3 separate regions of the Homo sapiens genome follow, and all the other regions are linked to region 3. Evidence: promoter capture Hi-C in 16 types of primary human blood cells and fetal thymus (Javierre and others, 2016). All regions are on one chromosome and are shown on one strand. Each heading gives the region's core, a stretch centred on a gene start or on the middle of the fragment in contact. The rest is flanking DNA. Distances are from core to core; before and after follow the strand shown. Region 1 has its middle 12 kb from the start of MINDY4B. Region 2 overlaps MINDY4B (MINDY family member 4B). Region 3 holds the start of MED12L (mediator complex subunit 12L).

Region 1 (3,958 bases), core at 635-3,134, 170 kb before region 3:
TTTACATATATAAATAAAGAGCAGATAAATTCTTATTCCCTAATCAATTATATCTACTTTTTTTTTTTTTGAGATGGAGTCTCACTCTGTCGCCCAGGCTGGAGTGCAGTGGTGCGATCTTGGCTCACTGCAACGTCCACCTCCTGGGTTTAAGTGATTCTCCTGCCTCAGCCTCCTGAGTAGCTGGGACTACGGGTGCATGCCACCATGCCCGGCTAATGTTTGTATTTTTAGTAGAGACGGGGTTTCACCGTGTTGGCCAGGATGGTCTCTATCTCTTGACCTCGTGATTCGCCCGCCTTGGCCTCCCAAAGTGCTGGGATTACAGGTGTGAGCCAGCACGCTCGGCCAATTATACCTACTTTTTATTTTGTATTTTTAGCCAGTATATTAATCATGAAAGCATTTAGCAATTATGGGGTGTTTACTATGACACCATGCATGATATATGGCATTTTGTTATTTCTTTACTATGACTGCTATGAAATTATTTCTTAGACTTGAAAGTAAGTCTGGGTTGACAGGATTGGTGTGATGGTTTCTCAATTATGAGGCATCCAGGCTCCTTACATTCTGTGGCCCTGCCATCCTCATACTTGGCTTGCATCTCATGGTCCAATGTGGCTGCTTTGTTTCCTGCCATTAACTCTGCATTCCAGAATGTAGAAAGGGGAAAGGGAGAAAAGACGTGACCTATAAGGGCGTGACACCGAATTCGTACATGTTACTTTTGCTCATATCCCTTAGGCCAGAATCATGTGGCTTCTGGTTGCAAGGGAGGTTGGAAATGTAGCCTTAGGTTGGACAGCCATCCATTCTACTGAGAATACTATTACTGCATAGGAAAGGGAAGATAACTGGTGGGGGGCCATGAATAGCCTCTGCCTTGGATGCCTGACAGATGTGCTTACGTGCGCACTCGAGAAACCTTCCTCTTGATCTGAGCCTATTTCTTGCCTTTCCCTTTCTTCCATCTGTATTCTTGTCCTTCCTCCCCTTCTCCCTGCCTTCTTGTCAACAGCTTGGTTGGGGGGCCCAAGTAAGCATATTCATTCAGTCCTGGTGGTTCTGATATGGATGCCCCCTCACCTATTGCTCATGTATTTCTACTGGTTCAGTCACTTGTCCCCCATATCCACATTCACATAACTGGTTTTGCAGCCCAGGAGATGTGGATAAGTCCTGCCTCCCTTATTTAGTCTACCTGTGACCTTGGGTAAGTTGACTAACCTTTGTAAGCCTCATCTTCCTCCCTCTAAAGAAGGCATCATTGCATCAAAGCAGAGTCCCTGCTTAGCCTACCTTATGTGATCATTGTGAGGATTCAAAGAGAGTCATGGAGACTTGGGGTTTCAAAGGGTGAAGAGCCACATGGCTGAGAAATAGGGCAGGGAGAGTGCTCCAGCGTGCTGTGTACTTTTCCCCAATCTGACCAGCTCCTTTCTCACAGAGGGAGCCCCAGGAATCTGCACAGGACCCCAACCTTGACCACAGCTCATTGGTTCAGGCATGGAATCTTATCCCTAACAAGCTTGATTATTTCTTTTGGGGATATAGCATTTTGACTCAAGGGTCATATAACGATGACAGAGTCCTACTAGTGGCTGAGGTCTGTAGAGAGACCACCGACATACCTGGGGTACTAGAGTCTTCCTTCCTGACACCTGGAGGTCAAAAGTCCTCCTACTCTGAGAAATACCTTATTCCTTCAGTACATTCATTTCTTTGCTTAAATTTGTTAAGAGTAATTTCTCTTTCTTACAAGAGCCTTAAGTAAGCAATTTTATTATTGGCAAAATTGACAAAGTTTAATATTTGGTGCTTTAGTCTTATAAATCTGTGCCCTTTTCACCCCCTCAGGGTGAAAGGTAAATTGTGGTTTCTTCCTCATTTCCATTCTCTTTCTCCAATCAAAATTAGTCATTCAAAAAGATTCCAACAGCAGTCATTGACACTGTAAAAAAAAAATGAGAATTTGTAGATCTCTACCTCTCCTAGAGTGACTGTGTAGCCTTAATTCCATTACATAATAAAATATATTTTTCCCTGATAAAGAAATTGTATACATTGGGAAAGAGAGGAGGAAGTGGATTTTCTGAAGAAAGTGAAGAGCTTTCAACCCCTCACACCTCTGCTTAACATCGTGTGATGCAGGGGGCTACTTAGTTTGCTTGTGTGCTTGTCCACATAGGGGCATCCTCACAAATGTAAGTAGCCACATCACAATGCAGTATCAAGCAAGCTTAGCTTACACTGGGTTTGAAGGCAGAAGACCTGGCTCCTTGACCCTACTCTACCTCATTCAACTGGCTATTGCTTCTAGCCCTTTGAGGCACCACCCAAGCATTTTGAACTCTTGCATGAAATCTCCGATTGCCTCACTGAACTTTGGGTCCCACTTTTGAGGCTTCACTTCTACCTTCGGTATTCTCACCCCTCATCCACTTGTAACATTTGGGTGGCTTGTCTGTGCATAATAGAAATTTTTTTTTCATTGAACACTCATTAAAAACAGCAAGACAGATTTTATTAGGTTGCTGCAAAAGTAATTGCGGATTTTGGCATTAAATGTAATGGCAAAAAACACAATTACTTTTTCATCAACTTAATATTTGAGCTACTGCAGTAGGAGAGACTTCAATTCAGAACAGAGCTCGACTTCAAATAGAGAGTCTCTTCCTCACTCTTTACGTTTGGTCCATCATCAAATCTCGACTACACGTTTGCATGATACACATTTCTGCATCCATCTACTGTCTGAGTCTGACTCTCATAATCTTTTGGGTGACTTTCTGTAAAATGTTCTCATTGGTTGACTAGGTTCTGTTCCTGTCCCTCGTCGACAGGCCCCAGCATGTTGTTCTGTAATGCAAATCGGACTATGTCATTTCCCTTCGTGAGCTGCTGGATAAACTCCAACATGCAGAAGGCCCCCCTTACCAGGATCTGTGCTTGCATCCTCTGTGCTGCTGCTGCAGAGTTAGCCTCCGTCAGAACACCGAGCACCTCTCCACGGTTGGATAGATTTAAATCAGCATTGCCTGTGCCTTCCTCTGCTCTATCAGCTTGCTAAATCAACACAGTCCTCCCTAGGTGTCAGGATGATACTTCAGCTGAAGACAGTAATTAATTTGACTTAGAATCCAGAGTATTTGCAACTCATGAGGTACTGAAGATATAGCTTTGAACTTCTGAGCAGGGAGCAGATTTGGAAAGCCCTCAAGGTGCCCTACAGAGAAACTTCCAATTTCTCAAGCAAGCCACTTTAAAAATATGATATAAACCTTTTACTGCTTAAAGAAAAAAAGGGAAGTAATGCTAATATAAAAGAAGAGAAAAGGGAGAAAGAAAGCTTGACAATGAGTAGGGCGTAGTGAGGCTTAAAATACTGACTGCTCATCTTCTTGTCTCCTTGGTCTGCATGGTGGAACAATGTACAAAATGGAGTTGCAAATGCCCAACTGGTTATGGTGGGCCCTGGACCCCTCTGCTCACCACAGCACAGCGGAAATAAATGCTCCTACGATGCGCTGCACCATCTGGTGGTTCAGTGCTCCCAAGGAAGTACAGGATTCCTTGGAATCGTTGGCCCTGTAGAGATCCTTTAGGTGGATCCTCTTTCACGTAGTGGATAATCCAACTGTGTATTGAATCCTGACTCCACACAATGTGGGCTGGGGACCCTTCTGGATGCATTGATAAGACATTAATGAGAGCTGATGGGCATGAGGCTTCTCCTTTTTGGTTATAGAAGGAAATGTAGCTAGGTACCTGGAGAGGAGAAAAGAGGGACCTGTGACAAGAGAGAATGCAAGCAGACATGTGGCATCTCAGGCAGAAGCAAGGCGGTTAGGGGCACAGAAGACTGGGAGTGCCACAGCAGTGGGAGGAGCTGTTCTCTACCCTGACCCCACTCTACCCCAGGCCGCAGTGCATTCTAGAACCCTGGGTTGCAGAG
Region 2 (3,128 bases), core at 374-2,873, 190 kb before region 3:
GCTGCTCTGGAAGACACAGACTTGGTGTGTGCTATGGTCAAAGAGAGCCCTAGACCCAGAACATCCCCAGGACAGGCATTGAAAACTAATGGAAAATGTTTCCCTGACATTGAGATTGCACAGCACAGAAAGACTGCTCCCAACTCAAGGGCAAAGAAGCCCCAGTTCTGCTCCTTACCAACCATGTGAACTTGGACAAATTACTGAACCTCTCTAAGACTTAATTTACTTATCCAGAAATGGGGTAACCCCTGCTTGGTCCACATCCTGGCTATTGTTGAAAGAGAAGCATGGCAAAGGGCTTTGGGAACCATAAGTGCTAAGTAAATGTAGGGTGTTATTACCTTTGTGAAAACACAGCCTGTCTATGCAGGAACATCTTGTGCCGTATGGAAGAAAGTCCCAACACAGATGGAAAAAGACCAGAGACTGGCAGCAATAAGAGAGGAAAAGCTGTGTATAAATGTGGAAGATTAAGACCGTTGAGACTAAGAAGGCTTAGAATTTAAATTCAATTTTAAAAGTTCTGCAAGCCAAACCACACTCTTATTTCTGTTGCCAGTTCCCACCTCCAACTTAGAAGCTTCTCTCTCCAGCTGTCCCTCTGAGGAGGTCTAAAAACAGAGGGGCTGCAGTTCTCTCTGGCCAGGCCCCGTTGGCCAGTGTGACAAAGATGACCCAACTTACTTGTGTAACATTTACTTTCCAATATCAGATATTATTTATAATGAGATTAACCTGACACATAATTACATGTGCTGTTGTGCTGTCTAGTAACTAGAAACAGATGGTAAATGGTCCTCATAAGTGGCTGCCATGATTATTATTAACATAATCAAGCATGGTTTATAGTTTTTCTCTTTGTGCTTTGCTAGTATTCTATATTTGTGAAGAATTCCTTTCTTTCCTGGCACTTTGTTCCATTTGATTGCTATGATGACAGTGATGGTGATCATCATTTAGACACACACATTTTATACACACATTCAAAGATAGAGGCCCTGAATCATTCTTTCCAACAGGGTTAATGTTCTTACCCTGACTGCCTTGTACTTTGTCCCGGGTTTAGAGCTTCCCTGTGACCACCTGCCCACCCCTAACTTGAGGTAGACTAATCCTCTTTAAAGCTCCTTCCCTAAATCTCTTCTTGCCTTATGAATTACTAGACCATCATGGAATCAGAGATTCCAAGATGTTCTAAGAAGACATTTCTATCCTAGACCAACTAACAGAGTAGTAGACTCTTGGTTCTATCATGTTTGCCATCAATTTCTTAGCATCTGGCATAGTGCCTGGTATGTAGTAGGCTCAAAATAGGTATCTGTTGAAGTTTTAAAGTTCTAATTTGGCTCTTTCATTTTACAGTGAAAGGACTAGAGGCCTAGGTCAGCTAAATGGCACATGTAAGGTCATGTATATAGTAAATGGCAGTGCCAGGACCCAAATGCAAGCCTTTCAACTTGTACCAGCCAGCGTCCCAGCAGGAAACAGATGGCATTCTCAAGTCAGATAATTAATTTGAGGAACATTTAAGACAGAGACTATTTATAAAGATGTGGGCTCGGTGTGGGGACACCACAATGGCTAATGCAGTGTCCCAGCAACAGTGGGAAGTCATTATGACCCCTAGACCTGAAGGAGCACACAAAGGAATGGTGACTTGAACCAGAAAGGAGAGAGTCCTGGGGAGAGGACTGCCATGAGAGGAGAGGGACTCAGCTAGCCACGAGCAACCTGACTTCACTTCCCTTCCCTCCCTTCAGTTTCCTTTCAGGGCTCCCCATTGCTCAAACTCAACAGGAAGCCAGAGGAGGGGGGCACCCTGCTGATGGAGGTCAGTCTTGCTACAGGTCAGCCTCTCTACTGGGCAGAGGGTAGGTCGGAGAAGAGTGGACCATGCATCTGGAGGGGCACACAAAGGACACCCCTACTCTAGTCTGAGGTGCGCTAGAGGATTATCCAGAGGCACTGAATTCATTAACTCACACCTGTCGAGACCCATCTATGAGCTAGACCTTATGGGGGGACACCCGGCTGTGCTTCCTTCCAAAAAGCACACCCTGCCTATTATCCCATTTCAGAGCTTCATTCATTTGAGTCTCTCCAGAATATTTTGGTCTCTTGGTATTACATTTTTACTATGATTCTTCTGGATGATATTGCAGCTACAGAAATGTGTTCAAGGCTGAGTCCAGAAAAGGGCCTGGGAGTGGGAGAAGGTGGGAAACTGCCACTGGAGAGAAGGAAGGTCATTAGGTGGGGCTGGTGGAATAGCCTGGAGGCGATGCTCACCTTTCCCACGATTTCACCTGAGCCAGCAGCCTTGGCCAGAGTTTGTTCCAACACATATGTTCAAAGATGTCAGGCTGGAGGAAGGAAGAAAGCTGTAGTATTGGAAAGAGGACAGCAAAAGGTGAGAAACAGGAGAGCTAAGGAAAGCAAAGGTGCGTAGGGTGCTTTACCCAACCTCCACTTTCAGAGAAGATTCCCAGCAAAGAGACAGTGTGTGCCAATGTCAGGAAATGCCATGCATCCGTAATCCAAACAGAGAAGAGAAAAGAATAGCAGAATGACAACAAAAGGATTTCTGGAGTGGTATTAGGATTCAATAGCTCTGACAATTTGCCAGGTGGCTGCACTGCTGAAACATCGATTAGAATTGGTCAAGCTTCCAAACTGCCTCCCTAGAACAAGCATATTTAGAATCCCAAGCTTGTCATCCTGAATTCCCAGGATGTGTTTAATTAATGCTACTGCTATTTAAAGGACTCATGATCATCTGGCCCATATAATGGGAATAAATCCAAATTTATTTTTTTTTAAAGAAAAATCAATTATCTCTATTTCTGGGACTTTCTTAACACCCTATCAACTTCATTTCTAAATCTTTTGTCTCCTAGCTTTTTCCAAAGGGAGAACATTACCTTGGCATAGTCATGGGGCGGTCCCCAGTTGCTTCATGTTTGTGTTTGTAGATAAGTGGGAATATTCAGACTCAGAGTTTCTCGCCTCCCCAGTACAGAGAAAGACTAGAAGATTTTGCAAATGTCTGTGAATGCTTTTTCTATTTTTAAAATTTGTGTGTGTGTTTAAAAAATAGTATATTCATGTGGTTCAAAATCCAGAGA
Region 3 (3,710 bases), core at 712-3,211:
GTTTCAGTTGGAGGCGCTTGCTTAGGCATCCCAAGGGAAGAACTGAGATTACATTTCTCCCCCAAACTAGGGGTGTTTGATTCAGTAGCAGCGCAGGCTGTTATTCCCAAAGTACCACTAATGATGCAATCATCAGTCCATCCACACATCGCCTACCTATCATCCATTCCATAAGCCAACATTTTTGAATGCTCACCATGTGTCAGGTCCCATACAGTGTTTCTGAGTTGCAACAATGAGTAAAACTGTCCTTACTAGTGTATGTCAGTGAGTTGGGAATGGGGGAGAAAGATGAAACAAAAATAGTAACTTTAATTTTTATAGCTGAGAGATGAATATTTGAGGGCTCCTTATATGATTTCTTCAGCTTTTTGTATGTTTAATAATTTCCCTAATAAAGTTAGATAATAAAAAAAACCCTTTCGGCCGGGCGCGGTGGCTCACGCCTGTAATCCCAGCACTTTGGGAGGCCGAGGTGGGCGGATTGCGAGGTCAGGAGATCGAGACCATCCTAGCTAACACTGTGAAACCCCGTCTCTACTAAAAAAAAGAAATACAAAAAAAATTAGCCGGGCGTGGTGGCGGGCGCCTGTAGCCCCAGCTACGCGGGAGGCTGAGGCAGGAGAATGGCGTGAACCCAGGAGGCGGAGCTTGCAGTGAGCCGAGATCTCGCCACTGCACTCCAGCCTGGGCGACAGAGCGAGGCTCTGTCTCAAAAAACAACCAACCAACCAAACAAAGAAAACAACAACAACAAAAAACTGTCCTTTCTTTCAAACAAGGGAGCTACATTTGATAGATGCCTGTATCACAAGGGCAAGTCCAGCCATGAAATTAATCCCAGGATATTAGTGGAAGAGAAGACCCTGGGGCAAGATGGGGAAGGTGGTCAGGAAATGCCCTCCAGTGAAGTTAGGTAAATGCTCTCTAGAAGTAATTGTTCAGATTAAGGAAGCCAAAAGCTAAACACCTGACTCAGCCTCAAACTGGGTTTGGAGGTGCTCACAGGTCAGGATCAGGAGTGAGGAACTAGCCTCTACCACATTACCTTCACTTTATTTATCTCCTTCTTCCCCCTTTGCTTAAATGTCAACGAACATCAAAGTTGATGTTCAGATTCAACCAGCATTTCCAGAGCACCTACTATGTATCAAAGGCTTCCGGTTAGAATCTGCCTTTACCACCTTACAGAGAGGGAAGGCCGAGAATGCCTCAAGCCGTGGAGAACGTGAGTCCATCAGGCAAGGACAGGTTAGGAACCCAGTCCCTCCAAGTCCAAGTCAGGGAAAACAGGTCAGAAACTTAGAATCAGTCGTGGGTTCAAATTCCGACTCGTTTCGTGGCTTTCGGCAAGTGAGTGGTCCTCTCTGAGCTGGCTCAATTTCTCCATCCATAAAAAGGGTACAGTAAGACCGTGGAAGGTTGTAAGGACCAGAGATTCTGACTATCAAGATCCTGGCACGTAGCGAAGGCTCCATAAATGGCAGCCATCATTCTTGGCCAAGTGCGGGCGCATTCTCCCGGGCACGCCTCCCGCGGGGTCCCTCAGGACAGGCCGAGCCCGCCTCCGCGGCTCCGGTCTCGCAGAGCTCGCGCCAGGTGGCCCAGCATCTTGGTGCCCGCGCCCCGAAGCGAGGAGCGAGGGCGGGTTGGATGACCAAGGTCTGCCCTGGAGGATCACCCCCCCCGCCCCTTCCACGCTCCCGGCGCAGGTGAGGTTTTCGGCCCAGGCCACGGGGACCGCGACCTCTGGGGAGGTCGAGGCGGAGGGTGCAGCGGGGGGCTTGGAGCAGGGCTCCAGAGGGCGCTCCCTCCCTCGCCCAGGTTCACCCCAGGGCCAGCCTCGGCGCCGGGGCCCGCGGGCTGCGCGCTCTGCGGCTGCGAAAACCCGGAGAGGCGGATTGGAGCGCGCTCACCGCGCTCTCAGCCAACTCCTCCGCGGTCCGGCCGCCGAGCTGGGCATGCTCAGTGCGGACGCCGCGCCGCCGTCCGCCAACTCGGAAGCTCGCGCTCCCGGGCCGTGGGGGCGAGAACGCCGGCGGCGAGCCGGCGTCGCTCGCCGCCCCCAGACAGTGGCAAACTTCGCGGCGTTCCCGGAGCTCGTCCGGGCGAGGCAGATACCGCACAAATAAAATCAAATCCAAGTCCCCCATCCCAACCCGAATGATGGAGGCTGCGGCGGCCGGAGTGACCCCGCCGCCGCCAGCCCCAGCCCGCTAGCCGCGGACCAACAGGTAAAGTGTTGGGGGTTGGGGGCGGAAGGGAAGAGGAGCTGGGGCCGTGGGGAGGCGGCGGGCTGGAGGAGCCCGAGACGCCTGCGGGCTGGCTGCCCCCGTCGGCGCTCACAGCCATCGCTCCTCACCCCCTTCCCCAGCCCCTGGAGGGACTGTAAAGGGTTAAGTCGGCCCCACGCCACCGTGAGCACGGCCCCCTCCAGCCGCCGCGACCGCCAGCAGCGCGCCTCGGCGCCTGCCCGGAGCCGCCGAGGGGACCGTAGCTGCGGATGCGCCACTGGAACCTGGCGGGCGTCTAGGAGGCACCGGCCGCTTCCCACCGGCCGCATCCCTGCGTCTCGCGCCCCCTCCAGACCTGCCTCTGCCTGCACTGGCCCGGTCCGTGTCCAGGTGGCGGGGTCTGCGGGGCGCGTGGCGGCGGGGGAAGGGTCCCTGCCGGGGAAGAGAGGCGGGGGCGGTCCGCTCCACAGCTTCTTCCCGGGAGGGGAGGGCCACCCTCGCCTTGGGCGAGCACTTCAGCCACCAGCCTAGGCGCCAAGAAAAGTTTTTTTTTTTTTTTTTCCAGTGCCCCACCCCCACCCCCATCCTGCGCCCAGCTGGGGTGGGTTTGGGTCCATTGGTGAAAAAAGTCACACGTTCCCATCAGCTGCTCCTCCCCCTGGAGACAAGGTAGGGGGGAGCAGAGGAGGCAGGCGCCGCGGAGGACCCTGGCCGACCTCTAGTCCCTCCGCCGCCGCCACCGGAGCGGTGCGTCCCGGGGCTCGAGCGCAGCCGAGTACCCGCCGAAGGCTGTCCCCATCAGTGCGTGTCTGCTGCCGGGCAGCGGCAGCATCCAACCTGCTTTATTCCTCCTGCCTGCAGCGCCACAGCGAGCGAGCGAGCGAGGAGGGGGAGAGAGGGAGTCTGTCTGCAAAGTGCTGCTCCCTGGTGCTCAGAGGCGGCTGCTCCAGCTCCAACTCTCATTCATTTCGCCGGTTAACATGAGAGATCATGGCCGCCTTCGGGCTTCTCAGCTATGAGCAGAGACCGCTGAAGCGCCCCCGGCTCGGGCCGCCCGACGTCTACCCACAGGACCCCAAGCAGAAGGAGGTAAGGGCGCCGGCGGCCTCCCCGGCAACCGGGGCCGCGCTCTGCAGCACTGACCCGGGGCCAAGTTGGCCCAGCGGGCATCGCCGGCGCTGCGGTGGAAGAGGTCGGGGAGGGGGATTAGAGGCGGGGGCCAGGCTGGGGGTGCTGGGCGACCCCCCGGCGGCGGAGACCGAGCGGCTGTCAGTCCCCGCGCTCCACTGGGGCGCTCGCTTTCCATGTGCCGGTCGCTTTCCCGTTGCCGGGCCTTGCACGGCGCCGCCGGGCGCTTCTCGGGCTTCTTCCCTGCCGAAACCTTGCTCGCTCTCACCCGTTTCTGCCTGCTTTATTTTTCTTCTTGCCGCTTCGGTAAATCGTCGTAAACTTTTTGAAAAATGTTGGAATGCAGTG

Evidence for each region. Contacts are between HindIII fragments. The CHiCAGO score rates a contact against its expected background, and 5 or more counts as called.
Region 1: a fragment that was not itself captured here is called in contact with the fragment with the promoter of MED12L in region 3 in 2 of 17 cell types (megakaryocytes and endothelial precursors); the score reaches 5.9 in megakaryocytes.
Region 2: a contact is called between a fragment that was not itself captured here and the fragment with the promoter of MED12L in region 3, in 1 of 17 cell types (megakaryocytes). The highest score is 7.7, in megakaryocytes.

What each region holds. Positions count from the first base shown.
Region 1 is chr3:150,915,174-150,919,131 of GRCh38, forward strand. No RefSeq gene overlaps it. Among named protein-coding and RNA genes, the nearest start is that of MINDY4B, 12 kb to the left of the region's middle. The HindIII fragment of the contact is 711 bases long and covers 1,530-2,240 here.
Region 2 is chr3:150,897,824-150,900,951 of GRCh38, forward strand. The region is part of intron 3 of MINDY4B (MINDY family member 4B); the gene reads right to left. Among named protein-coding and RNA genes, the nearest start is that of MINDY4B, 6.1 kb to the right of the region's middle. The HindIII fragment of the contact is 2,085 bases long and covers 582-2,666 here.
Region 3 is chr3:151,083,703-151,087,412 of GRCh38, forward strand. It overlaps MED12L (mediator complex subunit 12L), which reads left to right and starts at 1,962. Exons shown (of 45, transcript NM_001393769.1): 1 at 1,962-2,234; 2 at 3,096-3,323. The coding sequence starts at 3,225. RefSeq lists silencers at 1,614-1,983, 2,420-2,714. The HindIII fragment of the contact is 3,991 bases long and covers 1-3,710 here.